2 separate regions of the Homo sapiens genome follow, and region 2 is linked to region 1. Evidence: promoter capture Hi-C in 16 types of primary human blood cells and fetal thymus (Javierre and others, 2016). All regions are on one chromosome and are shown on one strand. Each heading gives the region's core, a stretch centred on a gene start or on the middle of the fragment in contact. The rest is flanking DNA. Distances are from core to core; before and after follow the strand shown.

Region 1 (6,105 bases), core at 1,099-3,598:
GGAGTAAACTTTTTGTCAAAGATTTTCATTATTATTTGATTCTGTGTACAATTTAAGATCAGCTTTACCATGACAAGAAGCAGATGAAGCACTTGAATCTGATATACATTGAAATAAATTAGTATGTCATCAGGTATGAATGACATAATTCTTTCTAAAACATAGGGCAATTATTTGTGATTGCCCTGGGACAATCACACTGGGACAGCCATTAAAAGAGATTGAAATGGGTACTACTGAGTGACACTTAGGAAGTATAGTCCAACCTAACATCTCTTGTAACTTAGACACATACTATCTGAATTTTCGATAGGATTTACAAAATAGTCTTAGTTTGATTTACAAGTGATACATAGAAGTTAAGAAGTTTGGAGTAGAAGAAAAGGTAAAGGAAACAATGTTTTTTGTTTTGTTTCTCTGAGACAGAGTCTTGCTCTGTCAACCAGGCTGGAGTGCAGGAATGCCATCTCTGCTTACTACAACCTCTGCCTCCCGGGTTCAAGCAATTCTCCTGCCTCAGCCTCCCTAGTAGCTGGGATTACAGGCCTGAGCCACCACAGCCGGCTAATTTTTTTATTTTTAGTAGACACAGGGTTTCACCATGTTGGCCAGGCTTGTCTCGAACTCCTGACCCCATGTGATCCACCTGCCTCCGCCTCCAGAAGTGCTGGGATTACAGGTGTGAGCAACCACACCCGGCCAGAAACAATGTTAAGACAATTCTGTATTGATGTTTTTGTGCAACTCCCTCCTCCCTTTCCCTCTCTCAAAGAATCTTCTTCCTAGCCTCATAAGCATGGAGGCAGACATGAGCTACCCTTTATTGTGTGCTTGGCGCTATATATATTCCCTCATATTCTTATGGCCTCTTAAAGTAAATATAATTATGTCTTTAAGGAAGAATCAGGGTCTGCAAGATCACACAGATAAGTGGTGGCAGCAGAATTGAAACTTAGATCTCTATGACAAAATTCCATGGTTTGCAATCAGACAAAACAGTTCAAACCCGTTTCCTCCACATGGGTGCATTTCTATGAACTTTTGCATGATGCTTTACCACAATGAGCCTTGCTTGGGTTTTATCAGTAAGATCAGATTATCAGTATCTAGAGACAGAATTGCTCTGAGGGTGAACTCAGATAAAGGTCTGTTCAAAGTACTTAGCACAGAACCTTGCAGAGGGTTGCCCCTCAGTGAATAATCACTATTATTACTATAACTATCACTGTTATTGTTGTTATTGCTGTTGAGATTATGATGTCAGGCTTTCCAGACACAGAGTATGGTTTCATTTGATTGTCCTACATGTATTAAAGTCCTACTGTGAGCAGGTTACTATTACTAAACTTTAGCTCCTCATGAAATGTTTATCTGGAAGCAGGTGAAAATAATGTGAGTGAATATGTATTACTTTAAAGACCACACCAGGGAAGCTCTTCAGACTTGAAGATAAGACCTTATTGTTTAAACTTGTGTATTTGCTAAGTTAGGCAAAAAATTGCTCTAGAGACTTTTTTGACTAAATTAAACCAAATATCATCAGATGCATGTGTGTACAAAGCCACAATAAACCTGAAAATGTCGCTGGGGAGGCAAGATCTCCTAGCATTTCAGAACAGGCTGATTTGATCATGATTTAGAGAGCTTTTCCATACACTTAGGCTGCTTTCTCTTCCTATGGCTGCAGCACACTTTAGTGGAAAATAAGCCCATAGGTATCTCATTTTTGGGGTGTGTGTGTGTGTGTGTTTTGTCCTCCCACAATAAGAAATCTCATCCTTTCCCATGGGCTCTGATTTTCTCTAACGTAAAGACATCGCTACTACTGTAGATAAAAGCAACACACTGTCAGAATCACAGAGAGCTAAGAGGTTGGACTTTATGTTCCATTTCTATTTTATTTGAAGATAGAAGTTTGATAACTTTCACAGATCTTTTGAGAGTGCATAATATATATAATTATGCTACACATATTGTTCTGCCACATCCAGATGCAAACTTCTAAAGGTGCAGCAGAGTACATCCTGCCACCAGCTGAGAAGGAGAAAGAATTATGGAAGGAGGGAGATAATTCTTGCCTATAAAAAAATGAGTTTACTTTCCTAATAAAATAAATCTAAAATTGGCCATTGTCATTGTATGATGTTAACAACCAGCTCTTTTGGCAAGTTTGAAAATACTGGGCTCCATTATAAAAGCTAAAAATGTCCTGGACCTGGAGTTGTTTACCCAGAGCATGAGCTGCTCTAAAGTTACAGAGCTCTGGTTGGAAGAGGTGGCTTGAAGGCCGCCTCCAAGTAACTGACGTCACAGTAGTCTCAGCTGCTGCTGTGACACTAAGCTGAGCAGCTTTTTGACTTGTAAAAGTGGTGAAGGTTTCAAAGGGACTTGTCAGTACTGCTCTGTGGAATGGTTGGACTTATTTTGCATCCCCTTTTCTTGTAAAGAATCGAGATTCACCGAGCTGAGACTTTTCTCTTTAAGACAGCTAGCCATCCACTTTCTTCCACTGCTAATTGACCAGTGGTCGAGCATCCATAGGATTTCTCCCCAGTGTGAAAGGTATGTTTCTTTCCGGCAAGTTTACAAGCAAGTGACTAATTATGGCAGGATACAAAGGGGCTGCTGTTGAGATGTTTTAAACTATGGATACTGTTTAAGTGGAGTGTAATTTCAACATCTGTCTCTGCTGTTGTCTGTGTCTGGGCTTAAAAACAGTGGGCGGGGTGCATAACAGATTGTACTGACTCCTAGGAAAAAGGCTGTTCAGCTGCTCAGGGTGGATTTCCCAACTGTGGACTGACAGTACCATCCGCTCTTTGAGACTGTTTTTCCAACACTGCTTCTCAGTTGTTTGAAAAGCACTTTGCCCATCATTGATTTTCACTAAGTATATTTATTCAAATGTGATTTTTTTTATTCATATAAAGACTTTTAACATTTGCAAATTAAAGGTCACAATCCTGGAGACTTGGTATTTGAAAATTGCGGTGAAAAATAAATTTTAGTTTTATCTAAGGTGGTGGTGGACTCACTGTAGAGTTAGTGTTTCTGTAATTTGAGCTGAAGTCTATGCCATTCATAATTGAATAATCTACGTTTAGGAGGGAAACTTACCACTATGTCTTTTGTTCACGATGGTTAGTTTTAGACATTTGTTTACTCAAACCAAATGTTTGCTTTTAAAGTTTGCATTTTATAAGTAAAATCAGTGTGCATACAGCTTGGATGTTTTCTAATTTGAGTAAATAACTGTAAAGAAAACAAGGAAGAAGATAATTAAATGAAACGGTAAAGTTGATTCATTCGGAATTGCATGTGGTAGTGTCTCTTTGACCTTGTTGGAGCATGAGGAATGTGCTAAATCAGCAATACACAGCAATGAAAAAAATTTCCCTTTTACTCTAACAAAATCAAATCATGGTGGTCTTTGGAAAGATTCAATTGCAAGTGAACAATAGAGAGGAATGAGATTTATTAATTCATTGAAATAATTCAAGTGATTATAATAGCCTGGAGAAAGGGATAGAGAATTTAGGAGGTAAATGGTACATTACTCTGATAGGTTATAAGCTGGGGAATTCCTAATCCATCAAAGTTAAGCAGAAGCAAAACATCTTCAGGCCAAATGAGTCTTCTAGGAATTGTGAGATTAGCAGTACCTACTGTGTGTGGCATTTCTATTGGAATATGTAACCTCTTATAAATGAAAAATCTTTAATTATGTGAAAAGTGATATGTTTAGCAAAAGGAAATAAGGACAGCAAGAAACAAGTACTCTAAACAATAATCTAAAAAGAGAGAAGTAGCAATGGAGCAGCTGCCCCTAAGGAACGCTGTTTAGTTTGTTTGGATGCAGTCCAGTTTTCAATGGGCGAGTTGGAGGTTGAAAGGGTAGTGACCCAGGTGTCCTAAGAATGGAGCACCCCTCAGAGAAAGAATTGCTGCCATGACCAAACTGAGGCTAATTTGGGGGTGAAAATAATTTCTTGTGAGACTTGTGTGTTACTCTTAAACTTTGCTTACTGGTAGGGCCGGAAGGCTAGCAGAACTATTTGCCTCCCATCACCATACTTATGCAACCCACTCACAACTCTTTATAATTCTGGCTTTCAGCCCTGGAAAGGGGAAGTAAGTTAAAAGGGATTATGCAATGCTGGTTTAGAGTTGGGGTGTGTGACTAAGTAATGCAGCTCACTCTGTCCTCTTACATTTGCTCTAATAAATTTTTATTCTGAAATGGAATTCTAGAAGGAAGAACATAAACTGGAGAGCCAAAGAGATATGGGGTAGGGGATGCAGATAGCAGAAATCCTTCCTTCTCTCCCACATAGATGCCAGTATCTGTGGGAGAAAATGAGTGACAACTAGGAACAAAAAGAACTTTTATTTTTGCCCCAGTAGAGAGCACTTAAATTGAGTTTTTGAATCTGCTGAACCACTTTACCCCATAACTTCTCATTACGAAACATTCTATCTCTACAAAGTTGCCCCTTCAGTTTGATATTTTTTGTAATATTTAAGTCAGATTTATAACAAAAGCAGTTTTACATAAGATTTGTTCACATTTTTATTAACAATAAAACTTTTTTCTTTAAATATGTGACATGTATCTTTAAAATATTTGAAAAAAGGCAAAAGAAGATCATGGAGAATATGAGAGTTCACACAATTACACTTGCTTCTATCTCGTTTTAAAATAAAGACCAAAATAATCTGTTTTTTTTCCAGAGAACAACATGGAGAGGGATAGATGGAGAAAGAGAGGAGAAAGGGAAGGAGGGAGGAAAGACAAGAAGAGGAAGGGAGGGAACAAAGGACAGAAGGAAGAAAACAAGAACCAAGTATTTTTCAGGCATTTGCTATGATCCAGAGCAGTGTTTAGGCACTTCTTTTAAGCATTTTTCCCTTTTGCTCACTTAATCTCCAAAACAATTCTATGCCCCCCCCCCACCACTTTATATTTAGAGGTGGAAGCAATATGTTTGGCTGCGTTACATCTAACATTATATTTACGACAAGACTGAGATGCTAAGAAGGCCAAATCCTTCCACAAAAAATTGGCACAGATATTGCTCTATAGAAATGTTCTTGCAAAGGCTTGTTTCTGATCCATAACTATTACATTTCTTGGCACTAGCAATTGCTCTGGGCCTGGAAAGGAAAAGCTCCATACATTGGTCCTTCTCCATATTAAGGGATGAGTTTGGCTCTTTGCAAATAGGTGCAGGATTCGGTCTGCTTCAGGACTGTTACCTGGGTTTAGATATAGTCTTGTTATCAAGAGCAAGACTGATCTAGGGTATTCCTGAATGATCTTCCGGTAGGTTAAAAAGAGAAAGGCCTGGCATCTTTCAACAGTAGCATGGAAGCGATTCAAGAAGAGTTAGGAATAGAAGGAAAAATTGGAGCCATTTGCTACATAATTGTAGAAAAGACTTTATGGTGATTTCTGAACATTTCCAATGTTTAAAGACAGTTGGGATAAAACATGGATTTATCATAGCTCCTCTTTTCCAGGTAGCTTGAAATTAGTCTGCATCCTTTTTTAGTTTCTTTGGTTAAATCTGCATTTATCTCTTATTATCTCAAACCACACCATTCTTCCTAAGAAGTTCCAGTGGCAAATACTTTCTAGTCAGCAAGGTAGTTTCACCACACAGTTAATTACGTATAGTTTTAAAGCAGTCTGCTAGTTTCAAGACAGGCACTGTCTGCATTTCCTATGAAGAATTGTTAGACGAACCTAAAAGATTACTAGGTATTCAAGATCAAGATCAATGGAAATTAGATTAGCCAAAACAAACAAAAACCAAAACTCTGTATGTTCTTTACCATCTTTATTTTATTTGTTCTTCACTGACATTTATTATGGCAAGTACTTGTGGTTACTGGTTTATATGTGGGAAAGATAGCAAAGAAAGGGGTGACAGAGGAGGTGGAGAAATGAGGTCAGAAATTGAGCATGGCCAAATGGATAAAATGAGATATGATAGCACCTTTAATAGCCAGATATGAAATTATGTATTTTTCGTGACTGAATTAATCATAATAGTGCTAGTGCCAAAGACATAGGAAAAAATTATCAAAATATCTTTAGTAAAT
Region 2 (6,105 bases), core at 1,892-4,391, 870 kb before region 1:
AGATAGCCCTCCCACTGTGGGTGGGCCTCATCCAATCGCTTGAAGTACTGAGATGAATAAGGAGTAAGAAATCCCTCTGTGTCTGACTGTTTACAAGCTGGGACATCAGTCTCCTGCCTTTGGACTTGGACTCAGATTGGAACTTACACCAATGGCTCTCCTGGTTATTGGACTCAGACTTGGACTTGAACTGGAATTTATACCATTGACTGTCCTGTTTCTCAGGCCTTTGGGCTCGGATTGGAATTATACCATCAGCTCTCCTGTCCTGAGTCTGGACTTCTCAGCTTCCACAATCATATGAGTCTATTCCTTGTAATATTGTGTGTGTGTGTGTGTGTGTGTGTGTGTTTATCTATATATTCCTTTTCTCTGGAGAATCCTGACTAATATATCCTTCGTACTAGGGTAGAAAATTTCAACTTTTTTCATCTTCATTCTTCAGACATCCAACACTCTGGTGAAGGATTTTGTTTTCTAACTGATTTTATAGAGTACATCTTTATACCCTGCAGAGACTGAATGAGTGAAGTAGACTCAACATAAATAAAAGCACTAATAGTGTTCTCATTAGAGCAGAGCGATAAAAAGATTTATGTATATTAAAATATAGGGTTCTCTACATGTGATCCAAAGATCTCTGTAGACCCTCATACTCTTTCAGGTGATCCATGAGGTCAAAATTGCTTATCAATAACATTGAAATATAGTTTTCCTTTTTTCTCTTTCATTTTCTGATGAATGAATAGAAGAATTTCCCAGAGGTTACATAATGTATGATACTACAACAGATTGAAAGATGAAGTAAAAATGAGAATCTAATTGCCTTCTATTGAGACAGATACTAAAGAGATTTGTAAAAAGTAAAACAATGCTTATTACTTCTTACTATCTTTTTTGTTTATTTTGGGAAATGGTTATTTTTCATGAAAATATAGTAAATTATGAGATCATTGCTAATCTTAAATTATTATTTTTGAGATTTTTCCATTTTAAATTCTAATATGGTCAATATTGATATAACTCAGAAACAAAAGCTGCTTGATATCCTTAGTATCACAAGTATAAAGGGGTCCTGAGACTAAAACATTTGAGAACCTTTGTTCTAATATAAGGTTTCTTATATATACCAGCGTGACTCTGACAAATACATTAAATATGTACTTCCAAACATTATACTCGTTCATTAAATCCTTATGTTTGGAAGCAGCATAAACTAGTTTCATTTGTTTTTCTTTTTGTTGTTGTTTTGACATTTTCTGGTAATTTATCTCACATATAGTTAGAACTAGTGCTGCCTCAATTGTTCATGTTATTAACTAGTGTCTTTGTCTCCTCATTCAATTGGTAATCTAACTAATCAAGTAACAAGTGTTTATTAGACTTCTACTGTATGCAAAGCCCTTGTTAGATAGGGTGCCAGTTATCAATTTATTGCCCCGGAGCTTAAAATTTGTCCTTCATTACCTGCCCTGTCATAGTAGCACTTGACCCTTTAAGCGGTTCTGCTTTACAGCTGGCACAGTGTTAAGCTTTGTCAGTAGAGGGCACTGGAGAGACACTTAAGAAAGAAGGATCATCTATTCTTGGTTGAATTGTGATCCTAAGTTTGTTTTTAGTTGGTGGTACTGCACAGTGGACGGAGCTGTGTGCATGTAGCAGACATAGTCCCTCAGTGAGCTTGTAGCAACAAACCTGGCCTGGTGACTGCCTTGCTGTGGCACACACATACCCCAGGCCTCATGCCACTCTGCTGCAGGGAGAATGTGTCCTGTTTCCCTAGCTTCCCTAGAGCAGGATTGGCTCTGGCCTGAGTGACCCAGCAGACTTTATCTTCCCGTGAGCTGCAACTGCACCTTCTTTAAGGAAATCTGATTCTCAGCAACCTCCCCTGTCTATATTGGTTTCTTTCTTGGGTACTTTGATTGTTCTTTAAGGTTTTCTTCACAGCGTTAAAGTTTCTATCTTCTTATAGGTAGTAATTCTTTATATTACATTTTCACTGTTAAATTTACTGTGTGGCTTCTCTCTTCTGATTGGACTCTGAATAATTCAGGTGCTTTCTAAGAGAACAAAATTACCCTTCTGAGGTTGACAAGAGATATCCCAGTAAATCATTTAAAATTGGCACAAAAGCAATGTATAATTGGGGGCCAGAATCAGACATTTAGAAACTGTGAGACAGTTTGAGGACAGAAAACTGGCATGATGTGTGGAGAAAATAATGAGGGGTCTGTCAGACTGGAGAAGGTGGTTTGTGAAGAGAAGTGGGAGGTAAAATGACCAGTTACTTTGGGATAAGATCATGGAAAGTTGTGAATACTAGGCAAAGAAATTGAAATTTTGCTTTTAGTTTATAGGGCACATTCAACAGATTTTAAATAAGAACTGACAATACAAATATTATGTTAGTGTACTAAAGTATACCAACACATACATATATAAAGGAGTTTTAGAAGAAAGTATGGAAATCTATTTATCATGAATTATTTTCTTTGCTATTGATCCAATTTCCCATGTAAATACCTTATTCATAGAAGTGTAACTTAAAGATAAAAAATAATTAATGTATAAAATCCATAGGGCATTACATATTCATCTATATACTAGATTATGTTATTTTCCTTGCCCATTCTTTTTAGTAAAAACTGTCATTTGTTTTAAGTCTTCTCTGCCTTTCTCTTTTTTAATGAATTGGAATAAGAAGTACTCAATTTTTGTATTGTGTTTTTTGAAATATTTAGTTATTTATAGGATCCTATTTGTATCCTATAAATACAAATAGAATTTATTTTTAAAAGATTTAAAAAACACGCTTGTGTTTATTTACTATTTATCATTATTCATTTGATTTTCCTCTTGTAAGATAGTATTCATGTAGTCTCTGTTTTAATAAAAATGTGCAAATCTAATGCCTATTCATTATAGAACTCTCAGAAACTGTACATATGCAAAAACTTTTTTGAAAACCTAGAAGACAATTACAGCCCACCAGATAATATACCGTTAAGATTTTGCTACATATTTTTCCAGTCATATGTACAAGTGTATGTGTGTGCATATGTGAATATACACACATTTACACAGATATAATTATTTAACACAAATATGTATTTTTCATAAGTGGGTTTAATATTTTATAACCTGCATATTTTACTTAACATATTGTAAATATCTTCCATAAAATGTTTTAAAATAATATTATTCTTAATGACTGCATTATTGTTCATTAAATTGATTTGCTGTAATTTTGCAAATTACTGATTATTGAATATTGAGAATACTTAATTTTTCTCTGTTTTAAATAGTGTAATGAGTTAGGCATCTTTTAAAGCTGTATCTTTTATACATACCTGATGGTTTATTTAGTATACATTTGTAGACATGGAATTCCCAGATCAGAAGGTATGTATCTCTTTTTTTAAAATATACTTTAAGTTCTGAGATACATATGCAGAATGTGCAGGTTTGTTACATAAGTATACATGTGCCATGGTGGTTTGCTGCACTCGTCAACCCGTTGTCTACATTAGGTATTTCTCCTTATGCTCTCCCTCCCCTTGCCTCCCAACAGGCCCTGGTGTGTGTTCCCCTCTCTGTGTCCATGTGTTCTCATTGTTCAGTTCCCACTTATGAGTGAGAAAATGTGGTGTTTGGTTTTCTGTTCTTGTGATAGTTTGCTGAGAATTATGGTTTTCAACTTCATCCATGTCCCTGCAAAGGACATGAACTCATCCTTTTTTATGGCTGCACAGTATTCCATGGTGTTTATGTGCCACATTTTCTTTATCCAGTCTACCATTGATGGACATTTGGGTTGGTTCCAAGTCTTTGCTATTGTGAATAGTGCTGCAGTAAACATACGTGTGCCTGTGTCTTTGTAGCAGAATGATTTATAATCCTTTGGATATATACATAGTAATGGGATTGACACGTCAAATGGTATTTCTAGTTTTAGATCCTTGAGGAATCACCACACTGTCTTCCACAATGGTTGAACTAATTTACACTCCCACCAACAGTGTAAAAACATCCTATTTCTCCACATCCTCTCCAGCATCTGTTTTTTCTTGACTTTTTAATGATCACCATTCTAACTGGCGTGAGATGGTATCTCATTGTGGTTTTGATTTGCATTTCTCTAATGACCAGTGATGATGACCTTTTTTTTTATGTTTGTTGGCCGCATAAATGTCTTCTTTTGAAAAGTGTCTGTTCATATCTTTCACCCACTTTTTGATGGGTTTGTTTTTTTCTTGTAAATTTGTTTAAATTCCTTGTAGATTCTGAATATTATTCCCTTGTCAAATGGATAGATTGTAAAAATTTTTTCCCATTCTGTAGTTTGCCTGTTCACTCTGATGGTAGTTTCTTTTGCTGTGCAGAAGCTCTTTAGTTTAATTAGATCCCATTTGTCAATTTTGGGTTTTGTTGCAATTGCTTTTGATGTTTTATTCATGAATATCTCTTAAAGGTCTTTTATGTCAAATTGCTGTCTATAAAGGTTGCACTTAAAACAAACAAAAAGCATATATAGTTTTCTCTGTGTTGAATGATATATTTGAGAACTCTATTGATCAAGAGACTGTAAGGAATATTTGTAAGGCCACTTTAAAGAAGTTTTAATTAAAAGCTAGTACATTGTATGTGTGGGAACATAGATGTTTTATTAAGCCTTGAGATAACTAAACTCTTGTTAGAAATCTGAGGAATTAGTTAGCTGGTAACAGAACAATCGTAAATAAGCTTAAATTATAACATAAAGTATGAGAGAAGTACATATTGTATAATTTCCCAAGTGTAAGGATTGGGAGCCAGTTATTCTGGGAGACTACAGAAGTGATTTTTAGATGTTGATAAGAATAGCACAGTATCTTCTGTGTTTGGGATGATGGAAGGGAATTTTGTTTCAGACAGGCAGCTTCCTCCCTAGTGCCTACTGGGTAAATTGCCGTTATATCAAGTCAGTAGGCAGAAAGATTTAGATGGCTTTTTGGTGCTAGTGCTTTCTTCCTCCTTTCTGGAACTGTGCAATAAATGCATTATTATTCCAGAGCACTCGGAGAATGTGGCAGTAGTCAGGCATTATTGAAAGAGGGCCATTTAGCGGAAACATTCTATAGAGATGAATTATCAACACTATTTTTCTTTATTATTTAACTTGCTTGAAATGTTGAAATAGTGTAGACAAGCTTTTATTTTGTGACTTTTGTCTTCCTAGTGATCAAATTGATAATGCCTACAAATGAATATACCTTGCCCATCCGGTTTCCCTAATAAGACAGATAATTATTGTAGCTTAAGGGTACAACTGACTGAAAATTCCTAAATGGTCTTTATAGTAAATATTATGCTATATAATTAAAATGTGACACAAAGCATATTTTTACTCCAAAGTTTATTTTATAATAGGAAAAAATGACTATTAGAAAGCCAATAAATCATTTAGAGATTACTACTTTAAAGTTGACATTCAGAAGCCATAATTGATACAGACCTCTAAAAATAATTTAAATGCACTACTGCCATAATATTCCACTGAGGGGAGGGGGTGGAACTGTTATAGTAGTGGAGAAATAGGCTACAGGTTTGTGAAGATGCTGAGGCCCAGTAACAAACACTAGGTAACTTATCCAAGATCTCAGGGCTGGTCCTCGTTGAAAGGAATGATTGGTCTGCTATGCAGTGGCAAATCTGAAAGACATCTTGCCAAATCAACCATTGACTTCAGAATGTGAATATAATAAAGAATAGAAACATCCTGCTTCTATAAATTGGGTTGGGATCCAGGATATCCTTTTTAAAAATAAAGACATAATTTCTCCAAAATACACACGGACAGTTTATTCTATTAATGTGCCGTCTGTGAGACTCAGAAAGAAAGAAAGAGAGAAAAAAAAAAGAATCCTAGCTTACAAGAGAAGATGATAACTAGGAAAAAGAAGTGAACAATAATATCAGCCACTATCACTATGATCTGTTTATTCTGTACTTCGATTATACTGAAGTGTTACAGAAATCTTCCCAAAAGCTCTCAACCAGAGGCTACCTACCACTCAGTGGCAATCGGTCACATTTGAAATTTGGCTTCTCAAATAGTTGACA

The links. Contacts are between HindIII fragments. The CHiCAGO score rates a contact against its expected background, and 5 or more counts as called.
Region 2: a fragment that was not itself captured here is called in contact with the fragment with the promoter of KIAA0408 in region 1 in 1 of 17 cell types (total CD4 T cells); the score reaches 6.1 in total CD4 T cells.

What each region holds. Positions count from the first base shown.
Region 1 is chr6:127,455,632-127,461,736 of GRCh38, reverse strand. KIAA0408 reads left to right here and starts at 2,348. Exons shown (of 6, transcript NM_014702.5): 1 at 2,348-2,562. All of the region lies in intron 7 of SOGA3-KIAA0408 (SOGA3-KIAA0408 readthrough), which reads left to right. The HindIII fragment of the contact is 12,466 bases long and covers 1-6,105 here.
Region 2 is chr6:128,323,629-128,329,733 of GRCh38, reverse strand. All of the region lies in intron 2 of PTPRK (protein tyrosine phosphatase receptor type K), which reads left to right. Among named protein-coding and RNA genes, the nearest start is that of PTPRK, 190 kb to the left of the region's middle. The HindIII fragment of the contact is 3,214 bases long and covers 1,535-4,748 here.